Linked DNA regions of Homo sapiens: all the other regions are linked to region 1. Evidence: promoter capture Hi-C in 16 types of primary human blood cells and fetal thymus (Javierre and others, 2016). All regions are on one chromosome and are shown on one strand. The core of a region is centred on a gene start or on the middle of the fragment in contact, and the rest is flanking DNA. Distances in the headings are between cores, read along the strand shown.

Region 1 (2,700 bases), core at 75-2,574:
CAAAGTTATTTTCCTAGTGAAATAGTTCAGAAGTTATTCTATATCAATAGCAAAATTTTTGCTTTTTATAGGCTACGCACCTATAACATCCACCAGATAACATCCACCTCGTCCTCAATTAGCAGGATTTTTCTCAATCTTCAGATCTCCCAGAACAGTTTTACTGGTGCAACTCAAACCAAAAACACTAACCACGCCCTTTATACCCAGAGTCAAGCTTCCTTTTGCTTTTTTGCCCTTAAAGTCGAAAAATGTAAATCTTTCACCCGAGAGGTTTTGCACCGGTTTCCTAACCCAACGCGGACTCTTTTAGCTGTGTCTTGATGTAATTCCTATTGGAAGACGTTTTCTCCAGGGCAGTGCAGACGCCCCGAAGAAGGACCCACGCTTACCTCCCACACACCTGCAACCCCTGACGGGATGCTGGAGCTTGTGCTCGGCGGACTGTGCTCCGCTCCGCTCTCGTTCCTGCTTTCGTCTCTCCCGGGAAACTACAGTCCAGACTGCGCCTCTGGCTTCTACAGGGACCCAAGCTCCGCCTCTCCCTCCTCTAGTTGGCGAATTTGGCAGCTGTTGCTCCTCCCCCTGCTGTTTCTGCAGCTGCCCGGACCGGAGGCAGCGGAAAGCAGCTGCCCTGGTACCTTTCCGCTCCCTGCACTTCTGCAGCTGCTCTGCCACTTCCACTCCCGTGGGGGTCCCTCTCCCCTCCTCTGTGGCTCACACCTGGAGCGGCCTCCTGCCCCACCCAGGCGTCTCTGCTGGGAGCCCCGGCTCAGCCTATCCTTCCCCGACCTGTGTGTCCGGATGCCCGGTGTGCCTGGGGCTTAGCTGCTCTCAGGGAAGCTGCCCCTCTGCCCAGTGCAAGTCCCCACACCAAGCCCTCCCTTCACCTGGGCGATTTCCCCGAGGCTTCCTCTCCACCCACACGGCATACTCAGCCCGACAGCCCCAGGATCCCCACCACAGGCCCCTCACCCCCTTCCTTCCTCTGCTCTGTCAGCCCGCCCCCTCAATGGGTGAGGCGCCTGCGGGGCCTACTCCGCACCCTGATTGGCGCAGGTGAGGGCTTGCCCCGCCCTTCCTCTCCTTTCCGTGCACCATCTCTCTTCATCTCACCTCCTCCCGCAAAGGCAGGGAATTCTCCTACTATTGGCTAGAAGTGTCACCACCCATCGCCTCAGGATCCCCCGCATGGCCTGCCGGGAAGTGTAGTCTTCCGATTGCAGGAATTGCGGACAACGCCGGCGAGCGGGACTACGAGTCCCCATAAGCCTCTGCACGACTCCGGCTGGGCAGGATTCCGGACAACGCCTGGTTCCTCTTGGGTCCTTCCGGCGTCGCCGGAGTGAATTGATCCGGGAGTTGAAGAGGGCTGCAAGGTGGGAAGTGAAGTCAGTGCCTCAGTTGCTGGTAAGGTGTAGCTGTTCTGTCCCAGTCCCCGTAGCTCTGCACCGAGCAGAAGAGGTCTAGGGTCACGCAGGGGCCATGGCTGAGGCACTTGGGCTTGGTTCTGGCAGGCGGAGCGGACGGGGCTGAGAGCGGGGCCCTACGGGCGTAAGCGAGGTTACCCTACGCGAGTGGCGTAAAGCGGGTTTGTAAATGCCGCCTGCCGGCTTGGGCCCGAACGCCTCCAGGAAGTCTCCTCTAGGTGGGGGCGGGAGGGGAAGGGCGAGGTTGGCCCCTGGTGCCCCGGGAGAGGGGACAGGGCGGATGTGCCTGGGGTGGGGTCCTTTGAAGGTGTGGCTTCGGACCGAGAGGTGAGGCTGCTGTTTTCCCCCTGCTTTGTAAGTAAGAGAAAAGGGAGGAGGAAGGAAAGGGTGCTTGGGAGTCGGCTCTTGGGGGTGACTCGGGTTATGCCCTTTGAGGGAAGAGGAGCACTGGAAGAAGGAAGAGACAAATGTTGGGGTCTACGGATTCAGTTCCAGTTTAATGATGTGGCCCTCTAAGGAGATAATTTTGCCTTAAACAGAAAGACTTGACCCTCTTAGGTGTCATACCTAAGGTATGTTTTTACTCCTTTACTGCTTTCAGAGCGCTTTCATTTTGGGATGCTGATGAGGAAACCGAGGGATTATATGACGTGCCCAAGGTCACACACGTAGGGACAGACTTTCTGAATCTAGTTCGGTTCGAGTCCAGCTTTAGAGTAGGGACGTTGGTTGTGCTTTTTGAAAAGGGTGGAGGAAGTTACAAAGTAAATGTATTTTATATAGTATATCTAAGAAGCCATTGTGAGATAAAAAGTTGTTTCTTGAACCGGAGTGAAATTCCTCAATAAAGGAAAGATCCTTTTGGAAAAAATAAAAATGGCCAGTTTCAACTTTTACAGATTTTTCCCCTTTTTTTAGGGGTGTATTAAATGATAGACTCTACTCTCACAGTTCATTTTTACGGGTAGGTAATAGGATGGGAGAACAACAGTTAAACAATATATCCCATCCTTAGAAGAATATTCTTTTCTTTTTCTACCTTAGGACTGTTTTTACTCTCATTTTGTAAAACTGATAATAGTGGGATTGGAATTCTTTCACAAAACTACACTTTTTTCAAATAATGTAGCGTTAGGAGAGTTTAGTGTGCCCATTACTAGAAAAGAAGGTATTTTGCATTTCTTGGAGGTAACATCGTCTTTTTTGAGACTTTACTTTTCCCCCATTTTCTTGACTCTGGGCTGTATTTGTGTGTGTGTCTGCAAATAAT
Region 2 (2,700 bases), core at 155-2,654, about 12 Mb before region 1:
CTCTCAGGGGGAAAAAAAAAATGCTGAGTTTACTTGGGAATCAAAAATAAAGATTATAATCTGGAATGCATGGAATGGCATACCAGTGCATTCAGTGAGGGTAAGAGGGGTTTCTATTAGCAAAAAGAGATTTACATAAGCTGCCTAGAAACAAGAGTTATTTGGTTCCAGAGGTTCAACGCCAGTTATTGTCAGTTCATTGGCGGAGATGCCATTACTGGGCAAGAACTCTCCTGAAAACATTTTATCTGAATTAAGGCAGTCCTAAAGTATGTTTATTGATAAGTCTTATCAAAGCAGGAGATTTGAAAGAATTTCTAGAAAGTCCTTGGAAATAGTTATCTCAGACAAGAGCCTCTTTCCTTCTAGGCCTGTCTAGGTATGACAAAAGTGATTTCATCCTAGCTTCTGAAACTTTCACATAATCAAGTAAACTTAAAAGAGTAAAACACAAAGTATGCTTATCATTTATCTATATTTCCATTCTTAAAACTGTCTACAAGCCAATTCTTAGAGATGAGAATCATTAAAAGGTAAAAATATGATTGACTTTCATAAAGCTTCATTTTATACCAGGAGGTAAAATGCACAAATTCTTTCACATGCTAACAGCTTTAACATTCAACACAGGCAGAAACTTGCGGGGCTGGGGGAGGATGGGAGAAATATTACTTGTTGAAACATCAGACACAAAGCTGATTCCTGGAAACTAATCTTAGAAGTAATAATAAATAATTACCTGCCAAAAAATGCCACCTTCATGTGTCTCCGAGATAGCACCTCACCAATGATGGAAAGCTTGTCTTTATATCCTTGCATTTCTACCAGATCATCTTCAGTGGCTATTCGATCAAGTTCCGGATTCTTATATGTTGCTGCAAAATTGAAATGGCATTAGAAAAGTGATATAAATGAATATTAAGTTAGTTATATAATGGAATACCTAAGATTGTATGTATTTTTGCTTTATGTTAACATGCCACCCACAGCATCTCAATGTTTGGTAAAAGGTGCATACTCCGTGGCAATGGGTCACAAGAATCCCGCCCAAAAGAATTTCAAGAATATTAAAAGTTGCAAGGGCACAGTCAAAAGTGGACTTCTAGGTCTCAAACATACAAGCTACCCTTGAGACAAGAATACATTTCTAAAGAGAGAAACTAGAACCTAACACTGACCTATTATTGTTCCAACCTGACTGAATGGATCTTCAGATCTTGAGCTCAGAAGGGGGAGCCACATACTGAGAGAAAAAAGTGAGGTTTGAATAGGAGCCCCTCAGAAATTAAGATACAGTGCAAGGTCTCCAAGCTAGGAAAGACCTTGCTACTTTACCACGTTCTATCTGCTTCCCCCAGGGATGAGGTGAAACAGCTCACTTAACACAAAGACAGAGAAGAAAGAGAATTACAGGTTGTATCCTATCTACAGCCATACCACCCTGAATGCACTCGATCTCATCAGATTGTATCCCACTTTCACTCTTATCAGGTTTAGGGTTTAACCGCACATCCCAGCCCTCACCTCTCCTCCATGGCTGGAGGTAGTTGAAAAAGCCTGGGTTTGAAAAATAGAAAAATCTTTCAGTTTTTTTTATAACTCAGGAATAGGAGATAACCTGATGTTTACATTCTTATCACCTCTTTTTGAAGGTAAAGACATGAAGATTCATGTGGGCGTGGGGGCTCACGCCTATAATCCTAGCACTTTGGGAGGCCGAAGTGGGCAGATCCCTTGAGGTCAGGAGTTCATGACCAGCCTGAACAATATGGTAAAACACCATCTCTACTAAAAGTACAAAAATTAGCTGGAAATCACTTGAATCCGGAGGCAGAGTTTGCAGTGAGCCGAGATGGTGCCACTGCACTCCAACCTGGGTGACAGAGTGAGACATCGTCTCAAAAAAACAAAAACAAAAACAAAAAGATTCATCTGGCTATCTGAATGACCCTAATTAGAGACAAACACTGCCACTTAAAACTTCTCCAGTGCACATCCAATTAAGCTTCTCATATCTCACCATACTTTTCTAACGCATTAATAAAATATGTGCAATTTGGTGAATAACGGACAGACTGGTTTAAGTATCATTACATTTATTTTTGCTTTTCATTTTATTTTTGCTCTTGTATGTTTTTCTTGATTTATTTGCTTTGTCTCCTTTTTGCAACATTTTTACTGAGGTTCTAAAACCTGTACAACTGAATTCAGATTCTAAAGCTGTCATTTCACTAGTGCCTAGCATGATGCATGATCTATAACACGTACAATACACATTTAACTTCATTTTCACTTCCTATTATTTTTAGAAAAAAAAATATTTTTAAAAAGTCAACTGTGCCAGCTCAAATTATTTCCTAATTGGAAACAAAGATTCTATACTACTATTTTTTTTTTCTCATTCAGCATTGAATTGTGTCAAGTCTGGTGCTAGGAATACAATGAATCCCAGGCTCCTGCCCTAAAGGAGCTCAAAATATGGTAAGAGAGGGTTGGGAGAGACATGAAAAAAAAAGTTTGATTCCCAATCTACCAAAGGTTTCCCCACTGTCGCTGGAAAAATTTACAGAATCCCTCCCTTTCCATTGTATAGTTGAGAGGTGCATAATCTTTTTTTTTTTTTGAAATGGAGTCTCACTCTGTCACCCAGGCTGGAGTGCAGTGGGCGACTTCGGTTCACTGCAACCTCTGCCTCCCAGG
Region 3 (2,700 bases), core at 53-2,552, about 17 Mb after region 1:
TCTGAAGGAGCTTGTAGTAGTGGAAGAGACAAACAGCTGGAGAGAGGAGTGTTGATAGGAGAAAGACACAGGATGATAAGCACACACTCAACCCACCCCAAACCAGGCTAGGAAAGTTGAGGTTTCCTAAGGAAAGTGACAGCTAAGCTGAGGCCTTGAGGATAAAGAGAAGTTAGCCAGCCAAGAAGGTATGGAAACAGTTTTCCACACAAATGAAAGTCTGTGCAAAGGTCCAGGCTGAGAGAAATCACAGAACCTAAAAGGAGGCAGATGGGCCCAGGACAGCAGGAACTCAGTGCTGGGGGTGGAGGAAGCAGGAGGCAGAACAAGAAAGGACTTCAACATTACAGACTTAGGGCATTCTCCTGAGGGCAAGGACAGACTACTAAAGGGTTTTAAGCAGGATAATTGGTACTGTTCACATATAAGATGGGCAGTAAACATCTGTTCCGATATATCAAATAACCTTTTGAATTTAATTCTAGTCTTCCCTCTGCCCTAAATCAACACTTCCGACATCAGTGAAGAATATACAGGATTCCTAAACAATAGAAGTTCTGGATAACACCTAGCACAGCACTGTGCAATAAAACCATAATGTGAAACACATATGTAATTTAAAATTTCCTAGTAGCCAGAGTCTTAAAAAGTAAAATTAAGTTAAATTTAAGAGTAATAATATATTTTATTTAATAGAGCATTTGTAGAATATTACTTCAACATGTGATCAGTATTAAAAATACTGAGATATTTTACATTTTTTCATTCCAAGTCTGCAAAGTCTAGTGTGCATTTTATACTTAACAGAACATCTCAATCTGGACTGGCCATATTTCAAGTGCTCAATACCCACACATGGCTAGTGGCTACCATACTGAATAGTACAGATGTAGAATGTACTTTGGGAAGCATTTCTCAGAATGCTTAAAGTACTTTTTATCATTTGTTTGTATTTGTATTCTAATTTATTAAAATAATGCAAATCAGTTTTTCAATGGGAAAAAAAAAAAGCTCAATATTGAAAAGGTACCCATAATCCCATACCAAAAATACCGGTTAACATTTGAATGTATATGTTTGTTAGACACTGTCTTCATGTCCAACATATATGTAGAATACACTTTTCTAAAAGTAAGGTCCGTCTGAATAGCTCTTAATATGTAAACATTTATAATGATTTTTATGAATCCATAAAAATTTCTCTTTTAGGAAAAAACAATCACATTTCCAACATAGGTTTTAAAAAAATACATTACACATGGGATTCTGAATAAAATAAAACATTAATTCTGCTTTTACAGTTACTACCTTTTAAGATTATACCTAAATGAGTATTTCCTAGAACTCTGGAGTTTTATAGGGAACCATTATTATTTTAGGGGCATGCTGGTCTCCGTATTACCTAGAAGTTCTCAGAGACTGCCCTGCTGCTCCAGTTTCTCTTTACTGCCACCTGTCTGCTCCATTCTTCCCTTTTCATTGCCCAAAAAAAAGGAAGAAGGAAGAGGAGGGAAAAGGGAGGGGGAGAGGGGAGAAGGAAGAAAGGAGTGGGGGTTGGTGGGTAAAGGGGGAAAGAGGGAGGGAAAGGAGAAAAGGAAGACCAAAAGAAAGAAAAGGAAGAACAGAGGGAGGGAGGGATGAGTGTCTAACTTACACAGAGTAAAAAGGTGGCTTCAAAAATTTGGTAGGTTTGACTATATTCATTGCCCTTTGCCTTATTACTCAGCAAATGTCTTGGAGGCCATAAGTGCCCTATGAGTGACCAGTTCACACCTCTTTTCAGGCCTCTGCCTTCAGAAGTTACAAGATGATCAATTCAACCTCCACACAGCCTCCAGATGAATCCTGCTCTCAGAACCTCCTGATCACTCAGCAGATCATTCCTGTGCTGTACTGTATGGTCTTCATTGCAGGAATCCTACTCAATGGAGTGTCAGGATGGATATTCTTTTACGTGCCCAGCTCTAAGAGTTTCATCATCTATCTCAAGAACATTGTTATTGCTGACTTTGTGATGAGCCTGACTTTTCCTTTCAAGATCCTTGGTGACTCAGGCCTTGGTCCCTGGCAGCTGAACGTGTTTGTGTGCAGGGTCTCTGCCGTGCTCTTCTACGTCAACATGTACGTCAGCATTGTGTTCTTTGGGCTCATCAGCTTTGACAGATATTATAAAATTGTAAAGCCTCTTTGGACTTCTTTCATCCAGTCAGTGAGTTACAGCAAACTTCTGTCAGTGATAGTATGGATGCTCATGCTCCTCCTTGCTGTTCCAAATATTATTCTCACCAACCAGAGTGTTAGGGAGGTTACACAAATAAAATGTATAGAACTGAAAAGTGAACTGGGACGGAAGTGGCACAAAGCATCAAACTACATCTTCGTGGCCATCTTCTGGATTGTGTTTCTTTTGTTAATCGTTTTCTATACTGCTATCACAAAGAAAATCTTTAAGTCCCACCTTAAGTCAAGTCGGAATTCCACTTCGGTCAAAAAGAAATCTAGCCGCAACATATTCAGCATCGTGTTTGTGTTTTTTGTCTGTTTTGTACCTTACCATATTGCCAGAATCCCCTACACAAAGAGTCAGACCGAAGCTCATTACAGCTGCCAGTCAAAAGAAATCTTGCGGTATATGAAAGAATTCACTCTGCTACTATCTGCTGCAAATGTATGCTTGGACCCTATTATTTATTTCTTTCT

What was found. Contacts are between HindIII fragments. The CHiCAGO score rates a contact against its expected background, and 5 or more counts as called.
Region 2: a fragment that was not itself captured here is called in contact with the fragment with the promoter of PDCD10 in region 1 in 2 of 17 cell types (neutrophils and non-activated CD4 T cells); the score reaches 7.3 in neutrophils.
Region 3: a fragment that was not itself captured here is called in contact with the fragment with the promoter of PDCD10 in region 1 in 1 of 17 cell types (total CD4 T cells); the score reaches 7.5 in total CD4 T cells.

The regions. Positions count from the first base shown.
Region 1 is chr3:167,733,516-167,736,215 of GRCh38, reverse strand. PDCD10 (programmed cell death 10) reads left to right here and starts at 1,324. Exons shown (of 9, transcript NM_007217.4): 1 at 1,324-1,554; 2 at 1,866-2,002. SERPINI1 (serpin family I member 1) reads right to left here and starts at 495. Exons shown (of 9, transcript NM_001122752.2): 1 at 393-495. RefSeq lists an enhancer at 1,073-1,512 and a silencer at 1,563-1,692. The HindIII fragment of the contact is 6,113 bases long and covers 220-2,700 here.
Region 2 is chr3:179,350,075-179,352,774 of GRCh38, reverse strand. MFN1 (mitofusin 1) reads right to left here. Exons shown (of 18, transcript NM_033540.3): 3 at 740-875. Among named protein-coding and RNA genes, the nearest start is that of MFN1, 3.7 kb to the right of the region's middle. The HindIII fragment of the contact is 1,207 bases long and covers 801-2,007 here.
Region 3 is chr3:151,213,424-151,216,123 of GRCh38, reverse strand. All of the region lies in intron 16 of MED12L (mediator complex subunit 12L), which reads right to left. P2RY14 (purinergic receptor P2Y14) reads left to right here. Exons shown (of 3, transcript NM_014879.4): 3 at 1,784-2,700. The coding sequence starts at 1,808. Among named protein-coding and RNA genes, the nearest start is that of GPR171, 12 kb to the right of the region's middle. The HindIII fragment of the contact is 6,767 bases long and covers 1-2,700 here.